Regions from separate parts of the Homo sapiens genome. Here all the other regions are linked to region 3. Evidence: promoter capture Hi-C in 16 types of primary human blood cells and fetal thymus (Javierre and others, 2016). All regions are on one chromosome and are shown on one strand. The core of a region is centred on a gene start or on the middle of the fragment in contact, and the rest is flanking DNA. Distances in the headings are between cores, read along the strand shown.

Region 1 (3,405 bases), core at 111-2,610, 1.4 Mb before region 3:
CGTGGCCATTGCTCATCGACCCATCCATCCTCCACCTCATGTGCCCTTGGTCTCCAGCATAGCCCAGTGTTAATACTGCCCATCCTGCACCTCCACTGCACTGTACAGATTTCAGTTTGACTGGAGTTGAGGATGAATCACTCACCTCCAGGGTTCCTGGCTCCTACAGAAGACTTGCTTTAGGACTGAAGGCTATATTGCAGTCTGTGTTGGCCTTAGTCGCGGAGGGACATTTAAGGATGGACTTACTAGAAATGCTCTTCATATTCCAGGAACACACAGCACATTTCCTCTGATGGGCTGCTGGGACCTTACCATTTACTGGAACCCAACCCTCTGAGCAAGTCTGAGAGATTATTCTCAGTCTAGAAGGAGTCTGCTGTCCGTTGCAACAGGCTTGCTGGGGAGACTCAGGGTTTCCCGGACTCTCCCTTGGCAGTACGTGAGGTCGGTGGAACTGCCTTAACCTTAGTCCCCCAGAGTGCCTATAGGTACCTTGACATGGTGGAGGTTACTTCCGAGGATAAGGCTTTCAGGCAACACACCTTGCCCGTGTCACGCTCTCTGTTCATTTCAAAATTATCCCTCAGATTTAACTTGACCTCATTCTCTCCACTGTTTTCTATAAGGGCCCTGCTCATTCTCCCCAGACGTGAGAGTAAAAACTTGCTCTCCTCTGGCTGTGAAATTATCCCTGATGCTTTATTTAATTAGTGTCTAAGGGGTTAGCTGATAATTGAGGTGGTGTGAGAGCTTGGAGTTCTTGCAATTAATGGCAAATCCCAGAAGACCAGAGAAAATGGATCAATAATGGGGAATAAGAACTCTGTGTGTGTGTGTGTGTGTGTGTGTGTGTGTGTGTGTGTGTTGAACTCTTTAGGGCTGGTGCGTGGTGTGTGTGTGTGTGTTGAACTCTTTAAGGCTGGTGCGTGGTGTGTGTGTGTGTGTTGAACTCTTTAGGGCTGGTGCATGGTGTGTGTGTGTGTTGAACTCTTTAGGGCTGGTGCGTGGCGTGTGTGTGTGTGTGTTGAACTCTTTAGGGCTGGTGCGTGGTGTGTGTGTGTGTGTTGAACTCTTTAGGGCTGGTGTGTGTATGTGTGTGTGTGTTGAACTCTTTAGGGCTGGTGCATGGTGTGTGTATGTGTGTGTGTGTTGAACTCTTTAGGGCTGGTGCGTGGTGTGTGTGTGTGTGTGTTGAACTCTTTAGGGCTGGTGTGTGGTGTGTGTGTGTGTGTGTGTTGAACTCTTTAGGGCTGGTGCGTGGTGAGGTGATTACTGTAACATCAGAGTGGAGTAGTAACTAGAGTGTGTGATTCAGGTAAAGCATGAGACCTGAACTGGCTTCAACACCAGGCTCGGTCACTCATGCCATGTGTCTTTGAGCAGGTTACTTAACCTATCTGTGCCTCACTTGTGTTTTCTTAAAAATACAAGAAACATTAGTATTGTTTTGCACAGTCTGTTACAAGGGTGGAATGAATTGTTTCTTGTAAAGCACTCAGAACAATGAGTGGCACAGAGTGATACATGTTGAGGGCTTTTTGTTGTTGTTGTTGTTGATATATTGTCTCAGCACCCTATTATATTTTTCACATGGAGGGGATAAAAAAAATCTTTCTTAAGACAGGCCGCAAGAAGTAGTGCACATTTTATTTTATTTATTCTTTTATTTTCTTATCTGTATAAATTTAAGGGCTACTGGTGCAATTTTGTTACACGGATATATTGTGCAGTGGTGAAATCTGGGCATTTAGCGTAACTATCACCCGAATAACGTACATTTTACCCCACGTAATTTCTCCTCCCTCACCCCCTGACACCGTCCTACCCACCCTAGTCTCCAGGGTCTCTTACTCCATCCTCTGCATCCCTGTGGACACATAATTTAGCTCCCACTTGTAACTGAGAACATCTGGTATTTGACTTTCTGTTCCTCAGTTGTTTGGCTTAAGATAGTGTCCTCCAATTCCATCCACATTGCAGCAAAGATATGACTTCATTTTTTTTATGGCCAAATAGAATTCTTGTAGCGCAAATTTTAATTCATGAGCTACAATTCATGTGATTAAATGCTGCTATGGGAACCACTGTGAATAGCAGCACCTTGGTGCAGTTACTCTCCCTCTCTAGGTTTTGACTCGATCGTCTTTTTTCTCTAGCTTTAGATGTCTAAGTGGACACAGGGTGAGTCATGGCCATGAGTTAGGGCTCTATTTTTACCTTCTGGGGATGGAGGGAGGAGAGAATATGTCCCAGAAGAAGATGGGGCGACTGTGCTTTGGCGAAGAAGTGGGAGCTGTCCCTGATTCTAAGCATGCTCTCTTGTACTCTCTCCCACGGAGAGCCAGATGAGGCACCAGGGACATCTTAGACACTTTTTTTTTTTTTGAGACGGAGTTTCACTCTTGTCTCCCAGGCTGGAGTGCAGTGGTGCGATCTCGGCTCACTGCAACCTCTGCCTCCTGGGTTCAAGTGATTCTCCTGCCTCAGCCTCCCGAGTCTATGGGACTACAGGCACCCACCACCACACCTGGCTAATTTTTTGTGTTTTTAGTAGAGACGGGGTTTCATTATGTTGGCCAGGCTGGTCTCGAACTCCTGGCCTCAGGTGATCCGCCTGCCTCGGCCTCCCAAAGTGCTGGGATTACAGGTGTGAGCCACCGTGCCCGGCCTTAGACACTGTCTTGTTATCCAGCTGGGATAATTTCCAGAAGTGGAGAGGCTTCCATATCTCTGCAGTTGGGGGAAGAAAGGTGGAATAAACAGTTTTGTGCTGAGAAAACCCAGATGCAATTGTAGTTGGAAACTCCCACGACTGAGACTGACACAGGGTCCCACTGGAATTGTGCTAATTCTCGTCTTGATCATCTTTCTTCAAATATCTGTTCTCCCACTCTTATTGTTGGCACCCCCTTTTACTCCATGCAGCAAGGTACTCTGTGATGTGATGATATTTTCCAGGCTTTCTAACAGATAGGGGAAGCTAATGAGATAAAATTACTGGGAAAGCTTGGAAAAATATTAGCCAATCCTCCATTCTCTATTTTTGTGCATGGAACGTAGTCTTGATGGCTAGCGCCCTAGCAGCCATATTTGATCTTAAAGCAATCTTAAAGAAGCAAGTCACATATTAAGAATGGTGGAACAGGCTAGGCATGGTGGCTCACACCTGTAATCCCGGCAGTTTGGGAGGCTGAGGCAGGTGGATCACCTGTTTGGGAGTTTGAGACCAGGCTGACCAACATGGAGAAACCCCGTGTCTGCTAAAAATACAAACAATTAGCCAGGCATGGTGGCACATGCCTGTAACCCCAGCTACTTGGGAGGCTGAGGCAGAAGAATCGCTTGAACCCAGGAGGCGGAGGTTGCAGTGAGCCGAAATTATGCCATTGCACTCCAAGCTGG
Region 2 (3,365 bases), core at 422-2,921, 1.5 Mb before region 3:
GTATAGGGATGTGAATGCCTGGGTCAAATGGGTCATATTTTCGGTACAAGCCCTCAGCAAAAGTAACTGCTACGCGTGTGCTGCAGGACCACCTCAGGCGCAGGTGGTTCCGTTTCCCCTGGGATGGAATAGTGATTCTAGAGGAATGTGTTGCATGTTGGCTGCATACCAGCACAATGATATAAGTAAGGAGAAGTAAGACTTGTAAGAGTCTTTCATTGCTGTTTCCTGCATTGCGGAGCTCAGATCCCAGAGCAATACCCTCGTTCTCTGCAGAGAACATGAACTACTCCTCTTGCCTCTCTAGACAGGGGGCAGAGTTCCATAAGCCTATGGGAGAACTCTCAACTTGTACCCACATCCTAAACGTCACTGGTGAGTTGAGCAATGGCAATTACTCAGCTCTCCATACACCCCGGGCTGATGTCTGGTAGTATTATGGGAAAAGGAACCTACGTAACCTGTTACTGTCCAATGGGACCAGGACTTGTGCTTTAGTCTCATTGGCCATTCCCTTCACCCTGGCATCCCATAAGATACCCCAAAATACACATGGCCACTGAAACCAGAGAGATTTCACAAATTCTTTTAATCCCAATGTGTATGTTGACTCAATAGGAGACCCTGGTGGGGGTAGGGTTGCCTAATAAATTGAAGGCCTGAAACGCAGTAGGTGCTGGGTTTAAAGTCAGGACACTTCTGCTGGTCAACTATTAAGAAGAATGCGAATTAAATTAACTCCATCTATTATAATCAACAGGAATTCATCAATTATACTTGGGATGCCCTCAAAGGGTGGCTAGCCAGTTAGATGCCACCAGCTAAATGGCCTGGGAAAACAGACTTGCGCTAGACATGATACTAGAGAAAAAGGGAGCGTGTGTGTTATGCTGGGCGGGAAATTTTGTACTTTCATTCCCAGCAATACTGCCCCAAATGGGACCATCACAAAAGCTTTACAAGGACTAACAACTCTAGCCAACGAACTGGAAGAAATGCTCGGAATTAATGACCCATTTACGGGTTGGCTAGAAGGCTGATTTGGAAAATGGAAAGGAATGGTAGCTTCAATCCTTATATCTCTCATAATTGTGGCAGGATTCTTAATAGCAGTGGAATGTTGTATTATCCCTTGTGTGAGGGGACTAGCACAGAAATTAATTAAAACAGCTATTAATAAACAAATGCCCATGACTTACCAGCAAAATAACCTGCCACTATTAGAAAGCAAATTAAACTCACTCTCCTATGAGGAAGAAAGTAAACAACTTCTGGAGCGATTCACGGCCCAAAAGGGTTTAAAAGAAAATGAGAACAAAATAAGTAAATAGAAAAGAGGAGGGAATTGGTGAGAAAACCTTTTAAATGGTCCATTTGCAAGGCATGATAAGTCTAAGCACTGGCAGCCAGCCTGCAAATGTAAGAAACCACATGGCTCATGCACCCAGAAGGTCACAGTAAGTGGACAGAATGTAGAGGTGTGGTCAGCTCATAAAAGGGAAGAAAGTTTTGTTATGGGGAAATCAAAACTTAAGTGGGGAAGAGGACGGGGTATAACTTTGTAAGGGGGATAATGAAAGTTAGGCGATGTCCGGGAAGATTGTAACCCCACAGTACTCAACCAGTGAGGAACTGGGGGAGGGACTTGTGTGCTAGGACATAAATTACCCGTTGTGACCGCCCTGGTTGTGCCTGCTCACCAGACACCCGATCTCGCAAGACCGTTATGAAAAGTCTCCCTTTCGCTGTTCTTTGTGCCTCTAAGTCCATTCTTTGGGTTTGGATGGGTGAGTGTGTTTCTCACAAATGCACCACTGCACCCCTGCCTAGGTGACAGAGACAGACTGTGTCTCAAAAAAATGAAAATATCAGGGAACTCAATGCAAAAGACTGCGGCGCTTTAGACTTGAGAGTAACCTGCCCATGACCCTTGGGGCTCCGTGAGGAAGACAAAAGACCCCCAAAAGGAGGGTGTATGGCACCTTTTTCTGGTTTCTCAAGGGGTCTCAGGACTGCTAGAAGTTCCCTCTTGATTTCTTCGTGTGTTATTGAAGGTGGCAGAAAGGAAGAAGGGCCAACAGTAAATGGGAAAACAATTCTTAGAGGGCTCAATTTGGGAAGATTTTAAACTTCCCAAAAAGGCCAAGGATGTTTTACATTTTTCTCAGTAAAAATCATGCCGACAACAACAACAACAAAAAAGTGAACAGATGGAAGGAACATAAAATTGCTTTTTAACAAAATTTCAGTTGACTGAAAAGAATTCCCAGGGTAGGAACAGGATCCAAAGAGAAAAAGCATTGCTCTATATATCTGCCAGGGAAAAATCCCCCAAAAACTAAAAGAAAAAAGAAAAAGCAGAAGGGTGTGTTGAAAATACACAAGCAGCAAGCTTTCTGTTTCATGAGCACGTGGCCTAACACTGGAGTGGAAAGAATTTCGGCTGTGGAGCGCTCCCACCCGCTCTGCTCATGGGAGGAGCCCTGCCTCTCTTCAGCTTCCCAGCAGTGGTGGGAGACACACGTCTCTTCTGCCCACGGGAGGAAGCGAGACAAAAGAAAAAAGTTGCTATCACACTCTAAATACAAACCAGTTTTCTATCAAAGGTATACCTGAACAAATGACTCAACGCCAAGTGAAATAAGCACCAAGGAGACCAGAACCAAGAAGCCTTTCACGGCTTTCACCAAGGTCTCCAGAGAGGAGGCAAAAGTTGCAACCCTGCTCAGATCCAGACCACTCCAGGCAGCTCAAATAAAGGAGAATTTTAGTAGCTGCAAATGGGGCTACTGTCTGGCCATATTATCTAGGGTTTCAGCCTCTCAGCTGGCTGACTGCACACAAAGGCCTGACAACCCGTATCTCCCACAGACGGAAGATTGCATGGCAGTTTGTAAGATGGGAAGTCAAAAGCTGTCTGTGGGAATAGACAGGATTGCAAAGTGAAAGGGTACCCCAAAAGGTCAGAGTTATGCAAATACCAAACTAACTTTTTACAAATGTTTCTATTTGTTTTGTCCTGAGTTAAAAGATTTGCATTTCCAAGAGTCTGGTTTCCTGACTGGGAATCAAATCCAGGCTGTGGTGGTGAAAGCATGGAACCCAGGCCCTAGATTAGGGTGGCCCGTCTTCTTTGTAAATCCCAGGGGGATCCAAAACAGGCAGCTTGGGCGCACTATATATATATATATATATATATATATATATATATATATATATATATGTGACATATATATTATATATGTGACATATATATTATATATGTGATATATATATTATATATGTGACATATATATTATATGTGATATATATTATACATATATAACATATACATGTTAGAAATATATATTTTTTATATCATATAT
Region 3 (2,980 bases), core at 364-2,863:
GCTGAGAAGGTGAGAAAGGGGAAAAGATTCTCTCACTCAGCCTCAAAACTGTCCCCCAGTATCAAAGTCATCTCCTCTCACACAGCATCCCTAACTAAGGTGGCAGCCCCTCTGCTTATCTGGAAAGAAGTACAACACACCTACCCTCCACTGACCTAAAGTGTGCCTCCTCCATCTACTGCCAAGTGACACTTTGCTCCTTCAGTGAAGCTTTCAGCAATGCCTCCCAAGCACTAAGGCCAGGCCTTTCTCTGCACTCCATCAGCACTTCAGACACACAACTCTTTTGGAACTTGTTACATTACCCTGCAATGATTTGTTGACAAACTTGTTCTCCTTTCCTGCCCCAGCAGACTGGGGACAGAGTAAGTCTAAGCCCTCATTCATCCAACACTCTTCAGGGAGGCTGGAATCTGGGCTCTCCTTCTCTCCCTGCTCTCAGTGCTCTCACCTGTATTCTAGGATCCAGTTCTTCCTCCTCTCTTGGGGACAATTTGGCCTCACTGCTGCTGCTTCCACCTCCTCCAGGCTCTTCTGCGACTGGGCTCCTAGGGACTTCATCCTCTACAACTTCAGGCCGCAGCTCCCCCTGTGGGGTCTCCCGCCCTCCTGGAACCTGTCTGAGCTCAGCCATGCTGACAGGGGGAGGGCAGAGCCCTATGCACAAGAGAGGACTGACATGCTGGGACCAGGGCCCCAGCTTGGGGCTTCCTGGGCTCTAGATGGCCAGGAGAAGAGTTTCTCTTCTCAAAAGGCAGAAAAGGTGGGCACAGGAAGAACCTCACACTAGGTTAGAGGTTGAGATTCAAGTTGTCAGTGGGGTTCCTAGAGCTGAAGCCTTGTCTGTGCAAAAGTTCTTCCCTTCCCGCCACAGGGAGTCCACTGTGACAAACCCGGAGCAACAGCTCCAAGGCAGGGGGCAAAGGGGGCTTGGATCCTGGACCGAGGCCTGCTAGGAGGAGCACCATTCGGGAGGGTGGAGGCAGGCGCCTCCAGGCTGTGGTGGCAGCTGGAGAGAGAAGGCTGGGCCCGAGCTGAGGCTGTAGGATGAGCGTCTCTGGGGAGCTGCAGAGAAACAAAGGCCAAGTATATGGTCATGTCAGCATCAAAACCGCAGCCACCAGCCCCTTCCAACTCTACAGCCTCCCAAAAACTACACTCTCACCACGCCCCCACCCATGTATTCCGACCAGTCCCTACCTCAACTTCTCTCCTTAGCCCTCAAGGACTTTAGATTCTACTCTTCCCCCGTCCCAGCTCCTCTCGACCCAGGCCCTCCTCAACCAGCGCCTTCGAGACTTTCCTCTGCACCCCTAGGCTCTCCTCCATCTCCTGTGGTCTCCCGCTCGTCCCACTCCACCCCAGCCCGGCTTTGCGATTCACCTTGTAACCCCGAGCCCCACCCCACCTTCTCTGTCCAACCCGAGACATCTAAGCCTCCCGTCTCCAATTCCACACTCTTCCGCAATCCCAAGGACCCTACTCCCGTCCATTCTACCCAGCCATGCGCAAAAGCCCCCCGCACAGCCTTACCTCAGTTTACCTTCCCGTCCGCGGAGCTTCTATGCTGCAAACAATCTCCCCCCCTCCCTCCCCGCAACAAGCCGATCCAACCAAAAACGACCAGGCAGACCAGAAGCGGAAATACATCATCGGTGAACAACGCTCTCCCTCCCACGCTCTCTCTCAAGCCGGGCCTCCTCGGGAGGCCTCACACTCCCCCGCCCTGCCTTCAGTTTCCGTACAAAATGGTGCCCCACGTTGCTCAGGCTAGCCGTAGGTTGCCTCCAGACCATACTCCACCAAGGCTGAATGAAAGAAAAACATGAGAATGTGGTGCTGAAGAAAATTAGGGCGCGGGACGGAAATCGAGAGTAACTGGTGAGAAGAGGAATACTAGATATAAAACGGAGATAATAGCCTCAGAGTGAGTAGTGCCATCTTGCTTTACGGAGCTGCGGCGGCGGCTGCCGGAAAGCCACTTCCGGCCTGCTCCACGGAGGCGGGCGCGACGCCGAAAGTGAGCTGGTAAACTTCCGGCAGTGGCTCCGGGGGCAACTCGAGTCCGGACGCTGGCGGGCTTCGCGGGCGAAGGCAAAGTCGATTTCCAAAAGTGACTTTCCTCACTCCCGTGAAGTCGGCGGAACCCTCCACTAACGGCGTCTGAGCGGACGGCTCCGATGTGTAAATCCCACTCCTCGAGGCCTCTGGACCTTGCACCTTGAACGACGTTTTGGTGGGGTCACCAATTGCTCCGTGAATACTAACCAGGAACTTAGTCAACATTAACTCAGTTAATTCACTCGTGCACCCAGGGTCAGATGCCCTCGATGAGCAGGAGTTTGTTACATGGCATTGTGTATCGTTACCTAGGTCCCTGAGCGAGCGCCTGCTTGTCACCTCTAGGTGTCGCTTGGTGAGGGGAGGGCCTAGGCCTAAGGGGAAGGGCTTCATTCAGGGTTGGATGTTTTGTTTTTACAAAAGGCGTAACTTCCTCAGAGTCAACTCAAAACTTTGCCCTGCAGATGGAAAAGGCAAATGGGCTGAATTCCCCTCCTTTTTGGATCCTGTCAAAGACAACCCAGCTAGACATTGAAGCAGTGAAAAAGACTTTTTTCAGTAACTACTTACAGAAAGGAAAAGAACTGACCTCTGTTCCGATTTGTACAGAAGTGACTGGGCATTTCAAAGGGAGAATGAAGGAAGGAAGGTGATCAGGGCTCAATAGTGTTGGAGAAGTGAAAAATTACAGATTTGATTGGCATAGATGCGATTCGGCCAGATGTGTCTGCTAGCTAGCAGCTATAGAAGTTAGAGTGCTTTTTTATGTATTTATTTATTTTGAGACGGAGTTTAACTCTTGTTGCCCAGGCTGGAGTGCAATGGCGCGATCTTGGCTCACTGCAACCTCCGCCCCACCCCCACCCCCGAGTACAAGAGATTCTCCTGCCTCAGCCTCCCGAGTAGCTGGGATTACAGG
Region 4 (3,209 bases), core at 210-2,709, 1.5 Mb before region 3:
CCACCCCCTTCCCTCCCCCCACTCCACATGCTATTTGTTCCGTTTCTCTGGAGAACCCTGACTGCTACACAGGGCCCTTAAGTGACAGGGAGAAAGAGAGGGTGAAATGTGAGAGCAGGAGGAAGAGGGCGTGAGACGGCCATCTTGCAGAGTGGAAAGGTGAATGGACGATAACAAAGGAAAGGGTGAATTATATATAACCTGGAAAGTGAAGTGTGCACAAGGAAATGTGATGTGTAACCTAAAGCCCCAGTGCTTTGCAGGTGGGCAGCCGTTCCACTGTGACATCGCCCCCCAGGTGGGCAGCCGTTCCACTGTGACATCACCCCCTGCAGAGGAGGTCATCATTCCGCATAATATGCTTGTAGACTGATGACAAATACAGGTGTGCAAATATGTGAAGCCCCATCACTGGACCAACCACACCTGCCTTCTCTGGGAGCTGTCAGTACCCACAGGCCCCAACCACAGCTTGCGCGGCTAACCAGGCACCAGGGACTTGCATGCTTTTTGCAATGTGAGAAGCTCTGTTGTAAGCTGGGCATAGTAGATACTCAATAAACTGTGGCTTTAGGAACAGTCCTAGGAATAGTAGTGCTAGTTCTTACTGTGTTAGTCACAGACATCTAGGGGGCATGGACAGCAAGGCATTAATCTGGTCCCTTATTGTGGCCTGTGGAAAGGGGTCAGTGAGAAGCTGCTCAGTGAAACAGCTTTGCATGATGACATTTTCTCACTATAGAGGCCTCCCAGCTGTCACAGAGGCCTGTTCATCTATTTTATTTTTTCTTTTTTTGAAAGCAAAAACACTTTGAGATTTGCAGGTAGGCTGACATAACCCACTCTCAGGGGCTCCAGTGAAAGTACCTCTTTTAAGTGGCCAAGTTGTCACTAAAGAGATGACATCTTTTTCCTGGAAATCAGCGTTGGATGCTACAGTCAAGAAAATAAAGACCCCAAACATTGGTATTTGGAGCTATTCTTGAGCATTGGGTTGTTCATGTTTATTCAGCTGGACCATCAGGGACAAGCTTGTGCCTTGACAAATTCAGATTTGCAGAAATGACCAGATTTATCGTCTTGATTCAGTGAGCGGGGGAGGGCACCCAGAGGAGGCTGGAATATGGCTTGATAATGGGAGAAGTATTTTTGCGAGGTTTGCTCCGGATGGAGGAGGAGAAGGAGGAAGAGGGGGAGGGGAGGAGGAGGATGATGTCAGGTGTGATGTAAGTGTGGGAGTAAGTCTCCCTTGTGGGATCTTTAAGAATCACTCCCAAGTGGCTGCAGCAATTACAGTCCAAGAATGATATGAAAGTACAGGATTTATGCTGCTCCAAGGTCCTGGAGAGGGAGGCACCGCATGCGTGCAGGGCCGTGTTGGATGAGAGCCAAGGGCCCAGGCTCTGCAGTGCAGGTGGGGGGTCGAGAAAGAGAGAGAACCCGTGGGCAAGTACCTGTGTCGGGGGGTCAGGGTGGGGCACACAAGCAGAAGGTATGAGGGGATTTTACTGGTGCATTGGAATGTCGCTGGGTCACAGTCGGGGGAAGGCAAGAAGGGGACCTGGAGGCAGAGACCAGGCTTATCACACCAGTGTGCCTAGTTGCTTGGGGGACTCACAGCCTGTGTGTGATACTGAGGCCTCATGGAAGTATGAAGTTTTAATAATTGATAATGTATCAGGGAAGTGGGAGTCGCATCTGCACTGGTTGTTGTTTAGAGGGGGGCTCAGAAGAAGTAGGGGTTCACTGAGGGTGATGGGCCGTCAGGAGGCAAGGATGCCTTGGTTGTTGCGTTCCCCCAGTCATAAATGAGTGCAGCAAGTGGGTCTAGGGCGTTCTTGGTTAGAAAGCAGGAGTCCATCTGTCAAGCGGGCGTTGTGGCGTTTCGAAGCTTTGGCAAGACCTTGGGGAAAACCACGTGTCCTGTGAATGCACAGTGGGTTACTCGTCTGTCTTCTTAGCCTGATGAAAGGCAGGGCTGCCTGTTCTCTTTTCTCAGTCCTTACAGATCTTGTAGATTTTCTCACATTCGCTCCTGGAGAGGTTTTTTTTTGTTTTTGTTGCTGTTGTTGTTGTTGTTTTGAGAGAGTCTCGCTCTGTCCCCAGGCTGGAGTGCGGTGGCGCCATCTCGGCTCACTGCAACCTCTGCCTCCTGGGTTCAAGCGATTCTTCTGCCTCAGCCTCCTGAGTAGCTGGGATTACAGGTGCCCACCACAACGCCTGATTAATTTTTGTATTTTTAGTAGAGACGAGGTATCACCATGTTGGTCAGGCTGGTCTTGAACTCCTGACCTCGTGATCCACCTGCCTTGGCCTCCCAAAGTGCTGGGATTACAGGCGTGAGCCACCGCGCCCAGCCTGGAGAGGTTTTGATGCTCTTAGGAGGGAAACGCCTTGATGTTACAGTTCCGCAGATGTTTCCATGAATGTGAGTTTGATCCTTTGTGATCGTCTTTGTTGTCTGCTCCTTAAATGCATTGAATCCTAGCATCCTTGGAATTTCAGGAGGGAAACTGATGTTCAGAGAAAGAGGATAGTGGTCAGGGACCCAGTGTTACAGGGGTATGTGTGTGTGTCTGAATGAGGGAGGGATGGGGAAGTAGACTTTGTACGGAATATGTTCAGCATTTGCTAGGTATATTATCTGCATTGTATTGCCTAATTCTCACCACCATCCCGGGAAGTTGGAGCCCTGAGTAGTGTTTGGACTCTGCCTTCCAGAAAAGAAGGGTTTGCTGCAGGCCTCAAATGGGGTGATTGGTTCTTGGGTGAGTAAATACCAGAGTAAACTCCTCTGGTATTGTAGGACAGTGTTTTGGTCGATCTAGTAAAGGGGGAAAACATCCTTACTCACAGTTCTGGAATTTTATGTCCAGCTATTCCTTGTATGCCATGTCACTTAGGAAAATTTAAAAAGTATCTGGCTGGGTGTGGTGGCTCACACATGCCTATAATCCCAGCACTTTGAGAGACCAAGGCAGGAGGATCACTTGAGTCCAGAAGTTTGAGACCAGCCTAGGCAACATAGCAAGAACCCATCTCCACAAAAAATTTAAAAATTAGCTGGGCAAGGTGGCACATACTTGTAGTTCCAGCTACCTGGGAGGCTGAAGCAGGAAGATCACTTGAGCCGAGGAGGTGAGCTATGATTGTGCCACTGCACTCCAGCCTGGGCAACAGAGTGAAACCCTGTCTCAAACAAAACAAGT

Evidence for each region. The method cuts DNA at HindIII sites, captures the fragments that hold promoters and counts their contacts. A CHiCAGO score of 5 or more calls a contact.
Region 1: a contact is called between a fragment that was not itself captured here and the fragment with the promoter of SH3BP5L in region 3, in 1 of 17 cell types (M0 macrophages). The highest score is 11.2, in M0 macrophages.
Region 2: a contact is called between a fragment that was not itself captured here and the fragment with the promoter of SH3BP5L in region 3, in 1 of 17 cell types (M0 macrophages). The highest score is 5.0, in M0 macrophages.
Region 4: a fragment that was not itself captured here is called in contact with the fragment with the promoter of SH3BP5L in region 3 in 1 of 17 cell types (fetal thymus); the score reaches 5.4 in fetal thymus.

What each region holds. Positions count from the first base shown.
Region 1 is chr1:247,457,494-247,460,898 of GRCh38, forward strand. It overlaps OR2B11 (olfactory receptor family 2 subfamily B member 11), which reads right to left and starts at 611. Exons shown (of 2, transcript NM_001004492.2): 1 at 146-611. The HindIII fragment of the contact is 3,294 bases long and covers 1-3,007 here.
Region 2 is chr1:247,358,768-247,362,132 of GRCh38, forward strand. The region is part of intron 1 of ZNF496-DT (ZNF496 divergent transcript); the gene reads left to right. Among named protein-coding and RNA genes, the nearest start is that of ZNF496-DT, 28 kb to the left of the region's middle. The HindIII fragment of the contact is 1,438 bases long and covers 953-2,390 here.
Region 3 is chr1:248,824,302-248,827,281 of GRCh38, forward strand. It overlaps SH3BP5L (SH3 binding domain protein 5 like), which reads right to left and starts at 1,614. Exons shown (of 7, transcript NM_030645.3): 1 at 1,534-1,614; 2 at 452-1,065. The coding sequence starts at 634. It overlaps MIR3124 (microRNA 3124), which reads left to right and starts at 2,076; the gene lies at 2,076-2,142. RefSeq lists enhancers at 1,286-1,345, 1,408-1,959, 1,716-1,975, 1,960-2,510, 2,086-2,135 and 1 more. The HindIII fragment of the contact is 10,505 bases long and covers 209-2,980 here.
Region 4 is chr1:247,336,253-247,339,461 of GRCh38, forward strand. All of the region lies in intron 1 of ZNF496-DT (ZNF496 divergent transcript), which reads left to right. It overlaps LOC124904574 (a long non-coding RNA gene), which reads right to left and starts at 484. Exons shown (of 2, transcript XR_007067004.1): 1 at 202-484. RefSeq lists an enhancer at 1-61 and a silencer at 1,215-1,509. The HindIII fragment of the contact is 860 bases long and covers 1,030-1,889 here.